2 separate regions of the Homo sapiens genome follow, and region 1 is linked to region 2. Evidence: promoter capture Hi-C in 16 types of primary human blood cells and fetal thymus (Javierre and others, 2016). All regions are on one chromosome and are shown on one strand. The core of a region is centred on a gene start or on the middle of the fragment in contact, and the rest is flanking DNA. Distances in the headings are between cores, read along the strand shown.

Region 1 (6,529 bases), core at 1,434-3,933, 670 kb before region 2:
AGGAAAAGCATGGCACATTGGGGAAACTGAAAGGTCAATATGACTGATGCTAGCAAATATGAGAAAGTATGTAAGATGAGACTATAGTGGTAGTAAAGGCAGCCTATGTTTGTAGGGGAACAGTTCCACCATGGCACCATGGCAATTGCATATCTCCATATAGGCCATGTAGGTAAGACTCAACTGTTGGCAGAATGCCCCATGATCATCCTTAAAAATGGCAAGATAGGTAGTCTTGTGAGGAGCTATCAAAGGCCATTTCACATTTGCTCCATACCTTGCAGAAGACCCTCGATCTTGCAGAAGACTTGCCATGCGGCAGTTTCTCATCTGCCTCCCTGATTCCACTAAGGTATGGAACTTTCCATTTTGCCCCTTTCAGATAAAACTGCTTAGCTGAAGCCTAGAGTTCACTTCTCAAAAACAAAGCAACCCACCACTCATGTTGTCTGTCATCTGACCCCCCTAGTTTGGTATCATCCTGTGGAATTGGGGATGTAAGCAGCTAATACCATGCTGATCTTGCTTTGCCATCTGTGTAAGTAATAAACTGTTTAAATCCATTAGGGTGTCCTTACCAGCCAAATCTACAGAAGTGAGGCAAGACCACATAGCAGCTACCACTACATTGCTGCTTAGGGACTGGTTGACCATGTGACCATATAGAACCTTCTAGGGGATGCTAATGATTTAGATTCTAAGAGCTATGGGAAGCCACTGAAATGTTTTAACCGAAGAGGGGGCACAATCAGATCTGCATTGTGAAAAACGTCACCATATAGAGTGTAATATGGAGAACAGATTTGAGATAAGACAGAAAGGATGCAAGAAAACCAGTACAAGTCTAAGCAGAAATCATGGTAACTCCAGAGTGGTGGTGGTAGTAGAGTTACAGAGAATAGACTGATTTGAGAGATATACAGAAGGTAAAAATATTTTTAATGCAGAATCAAGTGGAGTGGTTTTCTTTCTTGAGCAGCATATTGCTTCCCCTGAAGTTTTGCAGCCTTCCTTTTTGTCTAGCAATATCCATCTTGTTTCTTTAAGTTCACTCAATAGTTGAAGGGTAAAAGCAAATACATGGGAATACCTCACCCATTTATTCCCCCCTCATCAATGCCTCCTTCCTTGAACCCTCTATCTGCCTCCTAATGCAATCTAGACCTGTCCTGTAACTGTCACCTTTGAACTTCCTTTCATTAAGTTCCTGGGCTGAATCTACTACAAATGGATTCTTGGGCTTTTTCTTTCTTGTTTTACTGGTGCTCAATTTTGAGCAACTGCCTAAGAAAGGATGTATAAGAATAAAATTTTCTGAATCTTTGAATGTATTAAGGCATCTTTATATTACTTTCATACTTAGTAGTTTGGCTGGGCATAGAACATAAGGTTGAAAATCATTTTTCCCTTGGAATTTTATTTTTTATTATTACAGTTTTGGAGACAGGGTCTCGCTCTGTCACCCAGGCTGGAGTGCAGGTGTGAGACCACAGCTCACCGCAGCCTCGAACTCTTGGGCGCACGCACTCCTGCCTTCTCATTCTTCCAAGTAGCTGAGATTACAGGCACAAACCACTGTGCCTGGCTTCCCCCTGGAATTTTAAATCAATTGACTTTTAGCATCCAACATTGCTCACTAAAAGACTATTACATTTTTAAATTTTTGTGCCTCGTAAGCATTTACAATTTTGTCTTTATCCACAATGTTCTGAAATATTGCAATTAGCTTTATTTGTAGACCTTTCATTCATCCTAACTAGCATTAAGTAAGACTTTTTAATGTGAAGATTTCTGTCTCACTTCAGTTCTGAAAACGTTTCTCAAATTATTTCTTCTGATTTGTTTGTTCTTTCTTGAACACTTATAAGTTAGATACTGGGTTCTTAAATTGCCCCCCTTTTCTCTTATATTTTCTGTCTCCTTGACTTTTTGCTTTCATTGAGAAGGTATTGACTTTATGTTCGAGACCTCCGGTTTTCCTTCCAAACATAATTTTTGCTTCTCTGTGCTTGCTCTGGTTCTTTTTATTTTAAAATGGCATCCTATTCAGTTTTGTGGTTGCAATTTAATCTTTAATTTCTCGGACGTTACTAAAGTTTTATATTAGGTTTTATTACATTCCTGAATTATCCTGTTGCTCTTTCATCCATTTTCTATTTCCTTATTTTGGACTTTCACACATTCTACATTTTCCTAAAATGTCTCATCACCCTTGGTTGTCTGCCTATAAGGTTCCTATTATATCTCCATTTCACCTATGAGAAAATTAATTCTTACAGAGGTTAAGTAAGATGCTCAAGACTATGCTGTTAGTAAGTAGCAAATTTGAGATTCTAATTCAAGGTAGTCTAATTCCAGAGACTGATCTATCAACAATTCTCTCTCTAGTTGTACCAGTTGCTTTAGCTCTCCCAGAGGATTCATTTAAGTTATTTAGAGAAGGAACCTTTGTTTTGAGGTGGGAAGACTTGGAAGAAAAGCTTTGCAAGTTGCTGTTTTAAAATGAAGAATAAAGAGTTGCCTTTGGGTCTTAAATACTAAAGAACTTCTAAAAAAGATGCATGTCTAAACGCTGCCACAAGGTGGTGCACAATGACTAAGCACATTTGCTCCCAGTGGCAGCAACTAGGATCTGGGACTCTAATTAGAGAGATTCCGAGGGCTCCCAAAAATTTCAAGGCAAAGTTGGCAAGTCTTGTCAGGAATGAGGACTGTATGCAAGTTTTGTTTGTTTGTTTATAGAACACTAGCACATGGATACTACCTGACGAAATCTTTTTGCTGTATTTTTGTTACGAATGGTACTTTGAAAATAAAAGTGCTCCCTTTACCCTGCCGCCCTCCCTACCTCCTGAGAATTGTCTGAATTTATCTTATTAGCAAATATAAGCTTACAGATATTGGTAATTAGAAAGATAAGGTTCTCAGAAAAAAAATAATCTAAGCTGTACTCTTCTGAGAAAAAGTCTGGCTCTATCACCTAGGCAGGAGTGCAGTGGCACCATCACGGCTCACTGAAACTTCAGCCTCCCAGGCTCAAGTGATCCTCCCAACTCAGCCCCCTCAGTAGCTGGGACTACAGGCATGCACCACCACACCCAGCTAATTTTTGTATTTTTTGTAGAGACAGGGTTTGTAAAGACCAGCCATGTTGCCCAGGCTGGTCTCGAACCTGTAAGTTCAAGCAATCCACCCACTTCGGCCTCCCAAAGTGCTGAGACTACAGGTGTGAGTCACTGTGCCCAGCCTAAGCTGCACTCTTAAGTATACTCTAAAGATAGCAGATTCCATATTCCATCACTGTCATAATCTGAGGTGCAAATATTTTCATAGTTTTGCCACATATTGTATTAATTTACATGTTATAAAGTCTCTAGTTCCAAGCATTTAAAGTAAATTTATTAATAATATCAAATAGAAATGTATTGAAAGAAAATACTTAAAATTACTTTAACAGAGTCATTAACAGGTGGCGGGGCAAGGGTCACTTCTTTAAAAAAAGAAGTCCAGACAATAAATAAAAAATAGCAAGAATCTCTGTCACACTTAGCATAACTTTCTAATTATAAATTCAAATAATTTGGTCTGTGCAGAAGCTACTGGAGTATTTTTTTAGTATTACTTTCACTTTTGCAGTTCTCCATTTATGCTAATCATAGATTTATGCAATTCATGGTTTTACTTTTTTTAATGATGAGAGAGTCTCCTTTTCATTTTTCTGTCAAATATTTTACTATCATTTTGTTATTTATTTATGCAGAAAAGGAATACACTGAACTGGAGTCCTTGATTTTGCAACTTAATGCACATACACACCAAAGAATATAAAGAAAAGTAGACTGCCTTTTAACTAGTATTTAAATGTACACACAATGTGCCTGAGGACTGGCTTTATCCTTGTATTCATTCAACTACATTAATTATTATTATTATTATATTATTATTATTTTTTTTTTGAGATAGAGTTTTGCCTTTGTTGCCCAGGCTGGAGTGCAGTGGTGCAATCTCAACTCACTGCAACCTCCGCCCAAGGCTCAAGTGATTCACCTGCCTCAGCCTCCCGAGTAGCTCGTATTACATGGGATTACAGGTGCCTGCCACCATGCCCAGCTAATTTTTGTATTTTTAGTAGAGATGGGGTTTCACCACATTGGCCAGGCTAGTCTGGAATTCCTGACCTCAGGTGATCTGCCTGCCTTCGGCCTCCCAAATTGTTGAGATTACAGGTGTGAGCCACTGTACCTAGCTCCAAGACATTCATATTCAGAATAATACTGCAAATGAAGATAAATGTATTAATGTCAAATAGATTTTCTTCAAATTAAGCAAAGCCTGTAATTCTTATTTAGAATGCATTTAAAGGATAAGAAGTTTAAATGCCTAATCTTCATATACTGAGAGCAGGCCTGAAAATTTTTTAATTTTTGTTTTTACAACTTAAAAATATGTCTCACATTGCCATATATTAAAAATAACAAAAATGTTCTTCCTCAAATTATACAAGAATTTTATCTCTTGGAACTATAACCATATGTGAGAAACTGCAGCTAAAAGAATGTTTTCAAAAAGTTTGATATGGTTTGGCTGTGTCCTCACCCAAATCTCATCTTGATTTGCAGCTCCCATAATTTCCACATGTTGTGGGAGAGACCTGGGGGAGATAATTGAATCATGGGGGCAGTTTCCCCCATACTGTTCTTGTGGTAGTGAATAAGTCTCACAAGATTTGATGATTTTATAAGGGGTCTCTCCTTTCGGCTGGCTCTCATTCTCTCTTGTCTGCCACCATGTAAGACGTGCCTTTCACTTTCTGCCATGATTGTGAGGCCTCCCCAGCCACGTGGAACTGTGAGCCCATCGAACCTCATTTTCTTTATAAATTACCCAGTCTCAGTTATGTCTTTATCAGCAGCATGAAAACGGACTAATATAAGTTGTAGAAAGCATGAAAAGAATTTTTCATTATTTTATATTCCCTAAGGTGCATGTTTTTGTTTTTATATATAGTCCTATAATTTGATGATATACAAAATTGAAACATTTGTTCAACTTGAAAGCATATTTGGAAATAGCCATTTAGCAATTATATTCTCTGAACTAAATATCAGTTTGTATCATTTAATAACACCATTTGACAAGGGATTAGAACAACTGAAATTTGGATTGTTTTGAAAAGGCCCAAATTTGGTGTCACAGCCTTAGTAGGGTAATCTATTGCCCCTTAATTGTGTCAGTTACTAAGAAAGAGTGTATGTATGTTAGGTTTAGAGGTATAATTGTGTATCTTTATCCAGGGATATATAAATTTGCATATAAAAATTGAATTGTACAATACGGATGTGCATAAGTTCCTAAGATTTGGATGATTACATACAGTAGCCCCCTTCATCCATGATTTTGCTTTCCACAGTTTCAGTTACCCAAGGTCAACTCTGGTCCGAAAATATTACATGAAAATTTTCAGAAATAAATATTTCATAAGTTTTAAATTGTACATCATTCTGAGTAGCATGATAGAATCTCAGGCTGTCCCACTTCACTCTGTCCTGGATGTGAATCATTCCTTTGCCCAGCATATCCAGGCTGTATATGCTACCCACCCCTTAGTCACTTGGTAGGTGTCTCAATGATCAAATCGACGGTCATGGTATCACAGTACTTGTGTTCAAGTAACCCTTGTTTTACTTAGTAATGGCCCCAAAGCACAAGAGTAGCAATGCTGGCAATTTGGATGTGCCAAAGAGAAGCTGTAGTTTCCTTTAAGTGAAAAGGTGAAAGTTCTTGACTTAATAAGGAAATTATATATATAGAGTTCAGTACTACCCACAACAGAGAAATATCAGCACCCCTAGAAACTATCTTTCTGTCCTATTCTAGTCAACTTTGTCAAGAGTAATCTTTATCTTGACTTTTAACAGCACAGATTAGTATATTAGTTTTCTAGGGTGGCTATAACAAAGTACCACACACTGGATGGCTTAAAACAACAGAAATTTATTCTTTCACAGTTCTGAAGATTAAAAGTCTGAAATAAGTTGCTGGCAGAGCCATACTCCCTCTGAATTCTCTAGGAGAGGATCCTTCCTCAACTCTTCCAGTTTCTGATAGCTCTAGACATTTCTTGGCTTGTGGGAGCATAACTATAATCTCTGCCTCTGTCTTTGCATGGCTGTCTTTCCTCTGTATTGGTATTCTTATGGAGTTTTCTTGGTGTCTGTGTCTTTTTGCCTTTTCATATAAGGACACCAGTCATATTGGATTAGGATGCAGTCATATTGGATTAGGGTCCACCTTAACTTGATTATATCTGTAAACTCTATTCCAGATAAGATCACATTCACGACCGAGGAGCCAAGATGGCCGAATAGGAACATCTCCAGTCTACAGCTCCCAGTGTGAGCGACGCAGAAGACGGGTGATTTCTGCATTTCCATCTGAGGTACCGGGTTCATCTCACTAGGGAGTGCCAGACAGTGGGCACAGGTCAGTGGGTGCAGTGCACCGTGCGCCAGCCGAAGCAAGGCGAGGC
Region 2 (6,371 bases), core at 3,202-5,701:
AGAGATGGGGTTTCGCCATGTTGGTCAGACTGGTCTTGAACTCCTGGACTCAAATGATCTGCCCGCCTCGGTCTCCCAAAGTGCTGGGATTACAGGCATGAATCACTGCACCCGGCCTATTTTTACTTTTTAAAAAATTTCCTCCTTCTGAGGCAAGAGTGATATTTTTTCATTTTTAGTGATAAACCAGTTGTAAATTTAAATTCTTTAACTCTTAGTTTTGAGGACATTTGTGAATCTATAGTTGCTATGGAGACCAGAAGATGGGTTTCCTTTTGTTGAATCTAATGTTAGATGAAGGATGGAAACTTAAACAACAACAACAACAAAATATATATATATATATATATATATATATATATATATATATATATATATATATATTAATGACAAGGTCCTGCTATATTGCCCAGCTAGAGTGCACAGGCTATTCACAGCTGAGATCCCATTACTGATCAGCACAGGAGTTTTGACCTGCTACATTTCTTTTTGTTGTTGTTTTGTTTTGTTTTGTGATGGAGTCTCACTCTGTCGCCCAAGCTGGAGTGCAGTGGCTCATTCTTGGCTCACTGCAAACTCCACCTCCCGGATTCAAGCAATTCTCGTGCCTCAGCCTCCCAAGTAGCTGGGATTATAGGCGGGCACCATCACATCCAGCTAATTTTTTTATTTTTAGTAGAGACGGGGCTTCACCATGTTGGCTCTGCTGGTCTTGAACTCCTGATGTCAAGTGATCACCCCTCCTTGCCTCCCAAAATGCTGGGATTACAGACATGAGCTACGGTGCCCGGCCAACCTGATCCGTTTCTGACCTGGGTTGGTTCCTCCCTCCTTAGGCAACCCGGTGATCCCCCAATCACTGTGAAGGATGGAAATGTTAAAATGTCTCCAAAGTATGTTCTTGTGATAGCCTGATTTAAATGAAAAATGCATGCTACCTGAAACTCTTTGATGATTTTTTAAAAAATCATAATTACGAGTATTTCCATATGTCATAGAATAGCCTCATAATATCCTAGTCTTCAGCCACTTTCTTTTTTTTTTTTTTTGAGATGGAGTCTCAGTCTGTCGCCCAGGCTGGAATGCAGTGGTGTAATCCTGGCTCACTGCAACCTCCGCCTCCCAGATTCAAGCAATTCTCCTGCCTCAGCCTCCCGAGTAGCTGTGATTACAGGCACCCACCACCACACCTGGCTCATTTTTGTATTTTTAGTAGAGACGGGGTTCACCATGTTGGCCAGGCTGGTCTCAAACTCCTGATCTCAGGCGATCCGCCCACCCCGGCCTCCCAAAATACTGGGATTACAGGCGTGAGCCACTGCGCCCAGCCCACTTTCTTTTCCATATTTTTGAAGCTACTTTCCCCTACCATTTTTCTGTCATACACCCCTGGCAAATCTCAATGCTACTACCTCATTTCTCCACAAACAGTCACCAATTTCTGTGTCTTCACTGTCTCAAGTATGTCTTACTAAATGCACATTTCCAATCAGCTTGTTCTGTTCTCTGTAATAATTATTTAGAAAAATTTCCACTCTCTCCTAACCTCCTTCCTGTCCTTCTTTCCCATCTTTAGCCTAGACTGTATTTTGAACTGGTTAATCAACTTCTTATTCAAAATCTCCACCTAGATATCTTACAGAATATTCAAAACTGAAATAATGATCTTCAACCTTCTAAGACTGATTCCCTTTCAGTAAATGGTGCCATTCTCCAAATGCTCAATGCAACCCAGACCATCTTTACATCTAATCTAATACCAAATCCTAGTGGGGAGGTCTACCTCCCAAATAAACCCATTCTCCATATTCTCCATTTTTGCAGCCATTTCAAGTTAAAAAAAAAAGAAAACAAAAATAACAGAAAACAAAAGAAACTTCAAATCTGGTCTTTTTACTTTCCCCACCCCCTTAATTCAAATCTAATTTGCCAGAGTCATTAAAACCCAGGCAGGGCCTGGTGCAGTGGCTCACGTCTGTAATCCCAGCATTTTGGGAGGCCAAAGCAGGCGAATCATTTGAGGTCAGGAGTTCAAGACCAGCCTAACCAACATGATAAAACCCCATCTCTACTAAAAATACAAAAAAAATTAGCTGGGCGTGGTTGCACATGCCTGTGGTCCCAGCTACTTGGGAGGCTGAGGCAGGAGAATAGCTTGAACCCAGGAGGTGGAGTTTGCAGTGAGCCATGATCATGTCATTGCCCTCCAGCCTGGGTGACAGAGCAAGACCCTGTCTCAAAAAAAAAAAAAAAACAAAAGGCAGGATCGAAGGGTAATTTACTCAATGATAATATACTTTAAAAGTTTTTGATACTTTGCACTTATGGTACATACTGTCTAGTGCAGGAAATAGACATTAAATATACCACTGGCTATACAGTTGTAATTAGTGCTATTTAATTAGGTTGTAATAAGAGTGTTTAACAGGAAGACCTAATCCAGTGGAGGCCCCCTTGAGGAAATGACTTCAGCCTGAGAGTTGAGGAATCAGTGTGGGATCGGAGGAAGGATGAAAGAGCCAATTGTAGAAGCCCAGAGACAAAGGATAGGGTCCTGGAAAGAGCTGAAAGGTCACTGGCTGAAGATGGGGGCACTACTGAAGGTGTAGTTGGAGCTGAAGGCATGTAGGACTTTTTAGCTCATCTTAAGGGGTTTGCTTTTTATCCTAAAAATAATGGAAAGTAATTGAAAGGTTTTAAGGGTGGTAACATGATGAGATTTAGCTTTTTGTTTGTTTGTTTGAGATGCAGTCTCGCCCTGTTGCCCAGGCTGGAGTGCAGTGGCACGATCTCGGCTCACTGCAACCTCCACCTCCCAGGTTCAAGCGATGCTCCTGCCTCAGACTCCTGAGTAGCTGGGATTACAGACCCGTGCCACCACGCCCAGCTAATTTTTGTATTTTTAGTAGAGACAGGGTTTCACCATGTTGGTCAGGCTGGTCTCGAACTCCTGACCTAGTGATCCACCCCTTCCCACCCCCACCCCCAGCCTCCCAAAGTGCTGGGATTACAGGCATGAACCACCGAGCCCAGCCTGAGATTAAGCTTTTTAAAAGATGGTTCAGAAGGCAATGTGGTGGTCTGCACCTACAGTACCTGGAGAGGCTGAGGTAGGAGGATGCTTGAGCTCAGGAGTTCGAGACTACCTTGAGTTATGATTGCATTGCTTCATTCCAGCCTGGGCCACAGAGCAAGACTCAATCTCAAAAAAATCACTCAATCTTCTTTACCTAGAGTGTACATGTCTCCCTGCCACTAATTCTCAAGAGGAAGGTCAAAAAGTTGATAGTTGGGGCAAAATTTGTACTGAGTCATTCCTCTCTTTCATTTCCCTTGACTTCTTTCAGATTTTTCATGATGTGAGAGTCACACCCTAAGTCTGTACCCATCTACTCTTTTCCTGAACAATAAGATAATCTCTATATCTAATCTCTAATCTATTAGAGTTTCACGTTGTTGCTCTGGCTGGCCTTGAAACCTTGGGATTAAGTGAGCCTTCCGCTTTAACCTCCCCAGTAACGGGCATTGCAGGCGCCTGCAGCCACACCATTAATACTACTTTAAACAGCAAAAACAAGAACACGAAAATTAAATCTAAACAAAAAGTGCTTGCCAATCCAGGTATTTATGTGACGTCTAGTAAGTAGATCAAGTGCGTTGCTTTCTTGTGAACACTTGGTTCTTTCCTGCCACATCAAAGTGATTGAATTAAGACGTGTCAAGCTGTTAATGGCCCCCAGACTTCCGCTTCAGGAAACTGGAGATCGATGGTTTTTTGGCCGGATTTGCGAGCAGCTTGTCAGCTGTTTTTGCCCTCCCCTTCCCATCCATCCACTGCGAATGAGTATTAGGAATTCAGAAGCGTTGTTTGCTATTTGATCCTAAGGGAAACTACTGTACTAAATATATTCTTCTGATACATGTTAGCACCTCTAAAGTATCTGCAAACCATCAAGAGGTAGTTGCGAAGACTCAAAATCCTAAATCACGCACTCATCAGTACGCAGCTGTTGCGAAACAGCTCTTAAATTGCCACTTTAAACCCAAAGAGAGTATGTCTCTAGCCTCAGCTGCTACCTAATATTGATCAAGCACTCACTACGTGCAAGAGACAGGAACTGTGGAGAAGGCTGGGGAAAAAAGCGTGAAAACCACGAAAACATCAGAAGCCAAAACTCAAGAACCTCTACTAGGCTAACTGATTAGTGAAAACGTCGTGTTAACAGCAAACGCCTTGAGTGTAGCGCTCCTACTCCTAACCCCCGGCTCTCTACACGGCAATCACCCGAACCCACTCTGCCTGCCCTAACAGGCCTGAGCTGCCCGGCTCAGACTCCTACACCTTTTTTGCACCGCCCGGGGCTGGGTGTGGTCACGTGACAGGTTCAGACCAATGGGCAGGCCGCCCGCGGGGGGTCTTCTATAAAAGCGCCTGTCGCGCGACCGCCATTACAACAAAAACTGGCGGCGAGGAACTGCGGAGAACTGTTGCCCTGCACCGCTTCATTTTGTGCAGCCTGAAAGGGGCAATCACATAAGGTCGGTTTTGTAATATACAGGTAACATACAGGTAATGTACCCTCCACAGGGGGTGCTGCCTTAGGCCGGCCCCGAGGTGCGGCCTTGGGTGGGAACAACCGTTTTTTCCCCCCTCTCCCCTCCCCGACCCCATCAACATCGTGCGACAGTCCGGGCAGTTGAGAAGGCCACCCCGCTTCGTGCCTGCAGCCCAGGTGAGTTGCCAGTCGCTTCCCTTTGGCCTTACCAACTTCAGGCTCGTTGCCCCCAAGGGATCTTTTTCTCTCTCTCCCTCTTTTCCCCTAAATGTCTGGTTTTTCTTCAAGGGAGGGCTGGGAAGGAGGAGGTTGGGGCGAGGGAGTGGGAGGTCCAGTTGTCCAACTGCCTCCTCCCATTTTGAAAAATACTCATGGTCTTTGTAGTTCCTCTTAGGTCTTGGACTGGTGTGGATCGCTGCTGCCTGTACTGTAATTTTGGAAATGCAGGAGAAAGTACGGAGCGTTTAGCTTTAGCTGGCATTTTGTGTTTATTCTGCAAGTGGTCATTTGGGACGGGGAAGTTCGGGTTCTTGCTTCATTTATTTATTCAATTAACTTTATTAAGCCCCTGGAACGTCTGAACCCTCTTTTGGGTACTGCAGGATTGTGGTGGGCTTTACTTCAAGGCGCGCTGGCCTGTATTAAGAATTAAGATAGAGGAGGCCGGGTGCAGTGGCTCGCCCCTGTAATCTCAGCACTTTCGGAGGCCGAGGCAAGTGGATCACCTGAGGTCAGGAGTTCAAGACCAGCCTGGCCAACATAATGAAATGCCCATCTCTACCAAAAATACAAAAATTAGCTGGGTGTGATGGCAGGCGCCTGTAGTCCCAGCTACTCGGGAGGCTGAGGCAGGAGAATCGCTTGAACCCAGGAGGCGGAAGTTGCAGTGCGCCGAGATCACGCCAGTGCACTCCAGCCTGGGCGACAGAGTGAGACTCCGTCTCCCCGCTCCCCCCAAAAAAGAAAGAGGTATGTACAGGGACTTTGGGACTCAAGGGAAAGGCCTGGGTGGATGGGAGGGAATGAGAGAGGCTCTTGGGCAGAAGTGATAACTCGTCTTGATCTTGAGGGACAAATAGAAGTTAGACTAAAAAGTGAGGAGGGAAGTTCAGGTAAAGAGAAGTTTCTCAAAGGCATGGATGTATGTACACCGAGTAGGATGTGACAGTGGATAATTGCTTTTTTTTTTTTTTTTTTTTTTTTAATACAGATAGCTGCTATGGCTGGGCGATCTCAGAGGATCGCCTGAGTCGCTCACGCCTGTAATCCCAGCACTTAGGAGGCCGAGGCGGGTGGATCACCTGAGGTCAGGAGTTTGAGACCAGCCTGGCCGACATGGCGAAACCCCATCTCTACTAAAAATAGAAAAATTAGCCGGGCATGGTGGTGGGTGCCTGTAGTCCTAGCTAGTTGGGAGGCTGAGGCAGGAGAATGGCTTGAACCCAGGAGGAAGTGGATGTGGCAGTGAGCTGAGATCGGGCCACTGCACTCTAGCCTGGATGACAGTGAGACTCCGTCTCAAAAAAAAAAAAAGAGATGGTCCTGCTGTGTTGCCCAGGTTGGAGTATTGACAGGCACTGTCATGGCCAACTACAGCCTGAACTGACCTCAAGCGATTCTTCTGCCTAAGCCTACTGGCTAGCTAGTACTACAGATACCCTGCCTCACTGTCGCTGACCGTGTTGGGAATTGGTGAAGTAGCAAGAGATGAGTCTAGTAAGGGGGCAGATTATAAAGGGGTTTGTATAGCATGAAGGACAGTGAGTTGAACTGTATGATCTTAAGCAACACCATTGCATAATTTATGTGGTGACT

The links. Contacts are between HindIII fragments. The CHiCAGO score rates a contact against its expected background, and 5 or more counts as called.
Region 1: a contact is called between a fragment that was not itself captured here and the fragment with the promoter of BRDT in region 2, in 3 of 17 cell types (naive B cells, total CD8 T cells and naive CD4 T cells). The highest score is 5.5, in naive B cells.

What each region holds. Positions count from the first base shown.
Region 1 is chr1:91,280,305-91,286,833 of GRCh38, forward strand. All of the region lies in intron 30 of HFM1 (helicase for meiosis 1), which reads right to left. Among named protein-coding and RNA genes, the nearest start is that of HFM1, 120 kb to the right of the region's middle. The HindIII fragment of the contact is 410 bases long and covers 2,479-2,888 here.
Region 2 is chr1:91,944,950-91,951,320 of GRCh38, forward strand. It overlaps BRDT (bromodomain testis associated), which reads left to right and starts at 4,452. Exons shown (of 19, transcript NM_207189.4): 1 at 4,452-4,733. The HindIII fragment of the contact is 8,652 bases long and covers 3,044-6,371 here.